Regions from separate parts of the Homo sapiens genome. Here region 2 is linked to region 1. The links are contacts of gene promoters, found by promoter capture Hi-C in blood cells and fetal thymus (Javierre and others, 2016). All regions are on one chromosome and are shown on one strand. The core of a region is centred on a gene start or on the middle of the fragment in contact, and the rest is flanking DNA. Distances in the headings are between cores, read along the strand shown. Region 1 holds the start of ITSN2 (intersectin 2). Region 2 overlaps ITSN2 (intersectin 2).

Region 1 (4,330 bases), core at 1,082-3,581:
ATTCCTTTATAAGCATCTCTTTCTACAAATTCCATTTTTGTCCTGCCAAGGATTTGGCACCTCCTTTAGAAGGAAAGGAGACTCAGGGTAAATTGCACCAGGTCTAGAACCCGAAAACACAAATGACATTGGTCAAAGGATGGGAGAAAAATGAAGACTAGCTATGTGCCTAACAGGAATAAAAAATAGGTTTTACCTCTCAGACCAACTCTCTGGAGCACTATGTTGTGAAGGATTCTGGGGCTTTGACTCTCAAATATGGGCTCCAAAAGAGCATATCAGTTAACTGGTGAAGGGTGCAATGGGAATGAGGCCACGTGCTCAAGATTGCTATCCTTGGCCTGGGTGGTTTGTTTGCAGATAAGGACAGATTGGCTGGTCCCCAGCAAGTGAGGGGCCTCCTAGACTGATAAAAGAGTCAGGCTTCTCTGTGTCACTGAAGCTCAGGACCTGTCTGTCAGGTCTTGGTCAGGTTCTAATCGAAGAGTTAGGAAAAACACTGAGTGTGAGAGCGGGAAAAGCCTGTTTATCATCATCGATGTTTGGTAAATTCCTCCTAAGCTGGCTGGCCAGTTCAGATAGGCCTGGGTTTGGAGCCATCTCACCTTCACCTGCCTCAACAGGTAAGGAATGAAAGGATGCCAGGGGTTATTTGATCTACACAGATCAAATCAAGGGATATGAGTTTTGGACCCCAGACCAGCCCTCACCCTGCTTCTAAAAGCCAAAATAAATCTTGGGTCTTGGCCGGGCGTGGTGGCTCACGCCAATCCCAGCACTTTGGGAGGATGAGGCGGGTGGATCACCTGAGGTCAGGAGTTTGAGACCAGCCTGGCCAACATGGTGAAACCAGTGTCTACTAAAAATACAAAAATTAGCCGGGCGTGGTGGCAAGTGCCTGTAATCCCAGGTACTTGGAAGGCTGAGGCAGGAGAATTGCTTGAACCTGGGAGGCGGAGGTTGCAGTGAGCACAGATCTCACAGTTGCGCCACTGCACTCCAGCCTGGGCAACGGAGTGAGAGTCTGTCTCAGGAAAAAAAAAAAAAAAAAAAAAAAAAAAAAAAGAAATCTTGGGTCTTATATCCAAAAATCTTGAGTCTTACATTTGGTTACTTTTTTTTTTTTGAGACAGAGTTTCGCTCTTGTCGCCCAGGCTGGAGTACAGTGGTGCAATCTCTGCTCACTGCAACCTCCGCCTCCCAGGTTCAAGCGATTCTCCTGCCTCAGCCTTCCGAGTAGCTGGGACTACAGGCGCCCGCCACCACGCCCAGCTAATTTTTGTATTGTTAGAAGAGGCGGGGTTTCACCATGTTGGCCAGGCTGGTCTCCAACTCCTGACCTCAGATGATCCACCTGCCTCGGCCTCCCAAAGTGCCGGGGTTACAAGCGTGAGCCACTGTGCCAGGCCGACATTTGGTTACGTTCATTAGGAAACACTAACTCCTCCCTCACCCCAATCAAAAGAAAGCCTTTCCCCTTGAAGAAGCTTCTTGTCAAGGGCAAACCTTTGGGGTTTTGGGATACGGTGGCGGCTTGAGTTGAAGTCTGGTCTTTTGTGAGGAGACCAGGAACCGGGAGGGGAGAAAAGAGACAAATTCTGAGTAGGAGCTTCGCCTGTCCCTTGGCGAGGGGTGGGGAGGAAAGTTTAGCTTCGTCGTGCTATGCTCTATGGGGACAGAGTCTTCCTACTGCTCGGCGGAGTGTGACTAGCGTAGAGGGTGCTCCTCGTGGGCGCTCCGCGTGTGTTATGGAGGAGGGCGAGGAATGGTGAATGGATGACCGAGGGTATGGTTAAGTCCTCCAGGTCCCTGAGAAGGGTTCAAGAGGCCTGTAACAGACCCATGGGCAAGGGTGGGATCAACCTCCTTCCCACCTTCCACCCCCCAATTCCCAGAGAATTCGTTCCCCCAGATCAGTGGAGAAAACTTCGGCGAGTGAGAAGGTTCCAGGGAGAACCCCGTGGTGGGTGCAACAGGGATGTGGCAGGCACTGCTTGGGACTTTCCAAAACCCCGGCGTCTGCCGTGGCAGGAAAAGCACCACCCAAGCTCAGCATGTTACCTCGGGGAGGAGGAGCCAGGTGGGTCTGTGCAACTCCAGGAAGGGCTGCCAGGTCTGGGGCTTCGGGGCCTCCCCGAGGGCAGAGAGGAGCGCTTCGGACCCGACCGACTCGGAGCAGACCTTCAGGGTTCAATGCCCCGGAACTCCTGGGGCGAGGAGCCACGCCCGGGCAGTTTCGGGCTCCGGAGGGTGGGGAGTCGGTGCCCGGCAGCGGGCGGGCCGTCAGCTGCCCGGCCCGGCGCCTACCTCCCCGCCCCCCGGCTTCCTGCGGAGGCCGCGGCCGCCATGTTGTTGTGGGGCTGAGGCGGCGCCGGCGGAGCCCTGAGCGGCTGTGACAGGCTACGCAACAGGTTCGCGGGCGGCGGCCTGACGACCAAGCCAGCTGCAGTGGCGGCGACGGCGGCAGAGCAGGGTCTCCCCGCGCCTGCCCGCGCCCAGGCTGCCGGTGCTGAGGGACGCGGAGTCGCGCTGTGACGAGCGGGAGGCGCGGCGAGGGCGCCAGGTGGGTGAAGCCGCTAGCGGGGCTGCAGCAAGGCGCGGGGCAGGTGCGGGCGCCGCGCCCGCTGCCCGGAGGCTCTGCGGGTCGGGCTGAGGCGGCTGTGCGCTCCGCACGATGGGGACGGGTCCTCGGGAGTACGGGCGGCCCCCGAGCTAGGCCCCTGGCGGGCTCGGCCGTGCGGGGCGGAAACCTCCGGCCCCGGGTTCCTTCCTCTGCTGCCGGGCCGGGACAGACGCCGAGGGGGCCTGGGCTGGGCTGCCCCTTCCTTGCGGCCGAGCCCGGGTCCCTGGCCGCGGCCTCGTCTGGCAGGTGGCGGACGCCGGCGAGGGTCGGGGGTGGCGTGGCCCCCTCGCTTTCGGGGTGTGAGCAGAAGAGAGCTCTGGGGGCACCCGCACGCCTCCTCGGGGACCCATTTTATTTTCGCGGAGTTGGTTTTCCTTCCTGGCAAGGGTTGGTGCCGAATGTCAGGTGAGCCGCATCCCGGTGCGTCAAAGTAGCCCGAGTCACGAGAGGACAGTGGGCGGATGCTTGGCGTCTACCGCTCGCGTTCCTCCGGAGTTGGAAATGTTAAATTTACCTTCAGCGTTATTGACTTCCAGAATATACAGGAAGCACCGAGAGATGTAATCTCTCAGGCCAGATAAAGTTTATTTGTGTATTTATTTATTTATTTTTAAAGACGTCTGCATATGCATAGTGAGTGGGTAAACCGAGGCTGAAACTGCAGATGGCTTTGTATTCTATAGAAAGATGCTCCGTTTGGATTTATTAATTATGCGCCTTGTCGCTCTAGAATTACCAATGGCAAGTGTGCTTTATTTGAAACTTGTGTTAATACTGAAATAGGAATATTTTTTGATGGAGCCAACCCCTTTACGATAGGAATTAAGGTTAGCATAGAAATGACTTGCTTTGCTCCATGCTTCTAGTTTGTCTCACTAGTGTTTGCTTGCTTACTCAGAAATAGGCAAGGTGTGACTTGAAATTTTACGTTGTTAGTGAGCTCAGTTTAGGTAGCATAGCTCTTGTAGTTTAAAGCTTCTTAAGCGTTTCGAAAAATTGCCTCTCTCCCTGTGCTGGTTTGCTATATTGTTAATCAGTGATAAAACCTAAAAGCTACCTAGAAACATCGCATAAAACATTTACGCGAATTAATAATGACGTCCTTCCAAATTTAAAGATACTGACAACTCTGATGTGTTTTCCTTTAGCTTTTTTTGGCTGTGCCTGTGACTCTCTTGTAATTTCAAAAGTAAATAAAGTGGATGTATTTTATGTTTTTGAAAACGTGGAAAAAATGTGCATTGCTGCTATTTTGATGTAATATTAATAAGCAGTTGAAAAGCTTGCATTTTTTCACCCTTCCATGCATTGATAACTATTCCCTGTGCCCACCTTTGTAATGAAAGGTAAACTCGTCCAAGAAAACTTGACCTGTACAGAATTACTAAGCAGGGAGTTACCATTGTTCGGTACATCTCAAGGCTAAAATCTTGATCTCTCCTGAATATGAGGAGGTGTGTTAGGCATGTTTTGGGGATTGGATTAATAGTGTTAAAAAATTTGTATTTTCACAAAAATAGCATGTACCCATCACCCAAACTCAGCAGCTTTCAAGAAGCTTTTCTTTTTTTCTTTCTTATTTTAAAAAATCCTTTAACCTTATGTAGTTAGTATATCTTTTTTAAAAAGTAGAAAATCATGTAACCTTAGGATTTTTAGTTTTAATGTAGAGTTTCACAAATTTCCATCTTTAGTAAGACAAAAGGG
Region 2 (4,330 bases), core at 933-3,432, 93 kb after region 1:
TCCAGAGTACCTAGAGAGATGTCAGGCAGCGGTCTGGGCTGAGGATGTAAATCTGGATGTCGCCAGTGTGATGTGATGGTGTTGGAAGACATGAGAGTAATGGAGCTCATCCAGGGGAGTAGTAACGTGAGAGAGAAGAGGATTGAGGATGCAGTTCCTGAGAAACATGGACACTGAAGGAATTATTAGAGGAAGTGGAGCCTTAAAAGGAGTGACTAGTAGTAGGAAAAAAAAAAAAACAGGAGAGTTTAATGTTAGGGAACTTTGAGAAGAGTGATCTGCAAGTGAAATAAAACAAGGACTAAAAAAATTATTAGATTAGCAATAGCACAGGTGTTGTTAACTTGAGGACAGCAGTATCAGTTAAGTGGACTAGTAGAGCGAGAAGCCAGATTTCAGTGAGTTGGAATAAATTGGAAGAGAGGAAGAGGAGACAGTGAATATATAAAACTCTTTGAATGAGCTTGGCTTTGAAAGGGAGAAGGAGAGAAGGTAGTAAATAATGAGAAATGTGGGTTGAGGGAAGTTTTTTTTTTTTTTAAAGTTGGCTGAAGCTTGAGCAAGTTTAAATAATAGTAGAAAGGATCTGCAGAGAGGAAACAGGTTAATGATAATGGAAAGAGTATAAATAACTGATAAAGATTGTTTTTTCTTATTAAAGTATAATTTATATATAGCAAAGTGTACAACCATAAGTATACAGCTCAAAGAATGTGTACACATCTGTGTATCTGTGAAGCCCCCCTCAGATCAGTGTGTAGAACGTACAGCATCAGGAAGGCACTTCATGTTCCTTGTCAAACCTCCCTGTTCTGACTAATAGATGGAGATGAGGAAGATTCTTGAAAAGGCTAGAAGGCTGGAATCTGGAGCCCTGGAAGAGAGTGGTAGAAGGATTGAATACCTTATCCTTTGTCATTAGAGGGCAGGAAGAAAGGGTGGGAGGGATTAAAGTAAATTTTGCTGAAGTAGAAGATGAAGTCAGGTCCCAGGACTTCCAAATTCCCGGTAAGATAGGAGGCAAGGTCTGATCAACTTAATGGATGAGGGTGTTACCGGAGGTTTCATTGAAAGTGAAAAGGATTAGAAATTCCACTGAGTCTTGGCCACATTTTCGATGACAAGCTGAAATGTTTTTCTAGCCTTCTAATCTGTTAATGCTATTTTGCTAACATTAATTAATAAGTAGTTAAGAAGAAGTAATAAGTAGTTTTGCTAGGCCTGTGAGAATTTATATAAAATGTTCAGTTTAACTCAGTATGTAAATTAACAACTAAAAATTAATTACAACTATAAATGACAGATGTGAAAGAGATTAAAATTGACCTCTTACTAAAACAACTTGGCCTAACTACAGAATAAATGAACGAGATTTTTCTTCTTGATTAGGTTGAAAACACTAGGAAAAAGTGTATCTAGAAATTAATACTTTTAAAAGCTTTTGGCCAGGTGCAGGTGCACACCCATAATCCCAGCACTTTGAGAGGCCGAGGCAGGAGTATCACGTAGGTACTGGCGTTAGAGACCAGCCTGGGCAACATAGGAAGACCCTGTTTCTACAAAAAGTAAAAAAAAATTAGCGGGGCTTGGTGGTGTGCACCTGTAGTCCCACCTGCTGTGGAGACTGAGGTGGCAGAATCACTTGAGCCCAGGAGGTCAAGGCTACAGTGAGCTGTGATTGCACCACTGCACTCTAGTAGCCTGGGTGACAGAGTAAGACCCTGTCTGAAAAGTCAGCCAGCCAGCCAAGTCCGTCAGTGAAGGGAGGTAGAAAGGAAAGTAGGAAGGGCATGTAAGTAAATGTGGTAAATGTGTGTGTGTGTATGTATGTATGTACATATGTGTACCTATATATAGCCAATACTCATAGCTTACGGTGATTCCTTTCCTTAAGACCATACTTTTTTTTTTTTTTTATACTTTAAGTTCTGGGATACATGTGCAGAACGTGCAGGTTTGTTACATAGGTATACATGTGCCATGGTGGTTTGCTGCACCCATCAACCTGTCATCTACGTTAGGTATTTCTCCTAATGCTTTCCTCCCCTAGTCCCCCACCCCCTGACAGGTCCCGCTGTGTGATGTTCCCCTCCCTGTGTCCATGTGTTCTCATTGTTCAACTCCCACTTGTGAGTGAGAACATGTGGTGTTTGGTTTTCTGTTTCTGTGTTAGTTTGCTGGGAATGATGGTTTTCAGCGTCATCCATGTCCAAGACAATACATTTAAATCAGGTACAATGCTGAGCATTTTGCAGCATTGAAATACTTTGGTTTGTGTAATTCCTCAGGGTTTATTGTATTCTTGTCTGAATTTATATTGCTCTGGCTTAGCTATTTTATTTTATTTATTTATTTATTTTTGAAACTGGGTCTCAATCTGTTACCCAGGCTGGAGTGCAGTGGCGGGATCATGGCTCACTACAGCCTCGACCACCCGAGCTCACGCCATCCTCCCACCTCAACCTCTTGAGTAGTGGAGACTACAGGCACACACCACCACACCTGGCTATTTTTTTTTTTTTTTTTTTTTGTGGAGATGGAGTTTCTCACTATGTTGCCTACGCTTGTCTCAAACTCCTGGCCTCAAGCAACCCTCTTACCTTGGCTTCCCAAAGTGCTGTGATTACAGGCATGAACCACCGTGCCTGGCAGACTTAACTATTTTAAACTAGTCTTAAACTAGATTTACAGGATAATATTTCATAAGTGTTTGCTTTCATTCTAACTATTTTAGAACACCATTTTATGGGAGCTACATTACTGTGACATCATACAGTTTAGCCATAGCAGCTCTGGTTTAGGAGTTTTCTAAATATTTCATTCATGATGTAATAAATAGCCAGACATATAACATTAAAATGAGAATTATTTACCATAAACATAAATGAAGTTGCCCTAATAATCCATTTATTACTAATTAAGCTTTAAGTCTATTGTTAATCAAATTTAGAATAATCCATTCAAGTTAACATTTGTTGAGTTTGTAACCATGTGCCTCTGGTGACATACAAAAATGAATAAGGAGACCACAGTCTAGGAAAAAAAAGAAATGTGTATTACTGTACAAAATATAACATGATAAATTTCAATACTAATTTATATGAGTAAGTACTGTGGGAACCCAGAGAATGAAGGAAAAACAACCAAATAGAATTGGGGAACATTTTTCCCAAGGATAGGATGGAGGAAGGCCTTGAAGGATTATGCCTTATATTTGCTTAGTGCTTTACAGTTTCCAAAGCGCCTTCATAAATATACTCAATTTAATTCTGAAAGATACCCTAGAGGAGGGCAGCACAGGTATTTCCCCCCAAATTTGTAGATGACAAAGCACACAAGATAGCATTCATTATCTTAACGAAGGATAACCAGGTAGCATGGCTAAGACTGAAATGTGGTTCTTTTAACTCTCAAGTCTGTAGTATTTCCTCTAAACCATGTAATATTCTGGGCAGAAGAGAATACCTTAAATAAAAACATTGAGGCTTGCATGTGCCAGGTGTTTTTAAAGAATGTCATATAACTATTTGCCTAGAATATCGAACAAATGGTAAGAGATGAAGCTAGAAAGGTAAGTTGAAACCTGACAAAGAAACTGTAATTTCAGAGTATTCAAATTCTACACTAAGAAGTTTGAACTTTTAAGAGCTTTAAACTAGAGAGACAACATCTGCTAGGAGAAAAATCCTAATGGGTCTAAAGTGGCTTACCATAGAGTAAAAGGCATCAAGATTGGAAAAGGAGAAGACAGACTGTATTGATTTGCAGAAGACATGATAATCTATGTAAAAAGTCCCATAGAATCTATTAAGCTACTAGAACTATTTAAATGAGTTTAGCAAGGTTGCAGAATACAAGATCAATATAACAAAATCAGTTGTAGTTCTGTATAGAAACGATGACTATTCAGAAATTGAAATTTAAAATACCATTTACAATTGCATAAAAATATGAAATACAGATAAAACTGATAAAAGATTTGCAAGACCTGTTTATTGAAAGTTACAAAGTTTTATTGAGAAAAATTGAAGTCCGAAATAAATGGAAAGATATATAGTGTTCATGGATTGGAAGATTCAGTATTGATAAGAAGTCAGTTCTTCTCTTAAGTCCTGTGTAAACAAATTTTTTAGAAAAAGATAAGAAGTCTGTTCTTCTCAAATTCTTACACAGACTCAAAGCAATTTACATCAAAACTTTAACAGGCAGCCAGGTGCTGTGATCCACATCTGTAACCCTAACACTTTGGGAGACCAAAATGGGAAGATTGCGTGAGACCAGGAGTTCGAGATCAACCCGGGCAGCAAAGCAAGACCTCATCTCTACAACA

The links. Contacts are between HindIII fragments. The CHiCAGO score rates a contact against its expected background, and 5 or more counts as called.
Region 2: a contact is called between a fragment that was not itself captured here and the fragment with the promoter of ITSN2 in region 1, in 1 of 17 cell types (endothelial precursors). The highest score is 5.4, in endothelial precursors.

The regions. Positions count from the first base shown.
Region 1 is chr2:24,358,537-24,362,866 of GRCh38, reverse strand. ITSN2 (intersectin 2) reads left to right here and starts at 2,331. Exons shown (of 40, transcript NM_006277.3): 1 at 2,331-2,563. RefSeq lists an enhancer at 1,898-2,047 and silencers at 2,148-2,447, 2,458-2,507, 2,518-2,917. The HindIII fragment of the contact is 2,111 bases long and covers 1,490-3,600 here.
Region 2 is chr2:24,264,968-24,269,297 of GRCh38, reverse strand. The region is part of intron 20 of ITSN2 (intersectin 2); the gene reads left to right. Among named protein-coding and RNA genes, the nearest start is that of FAM228A, 92 kb to the right of the region's middle. The HindIII fragment of the contact is 1,484 bases long and covers 1,441-2,924 here.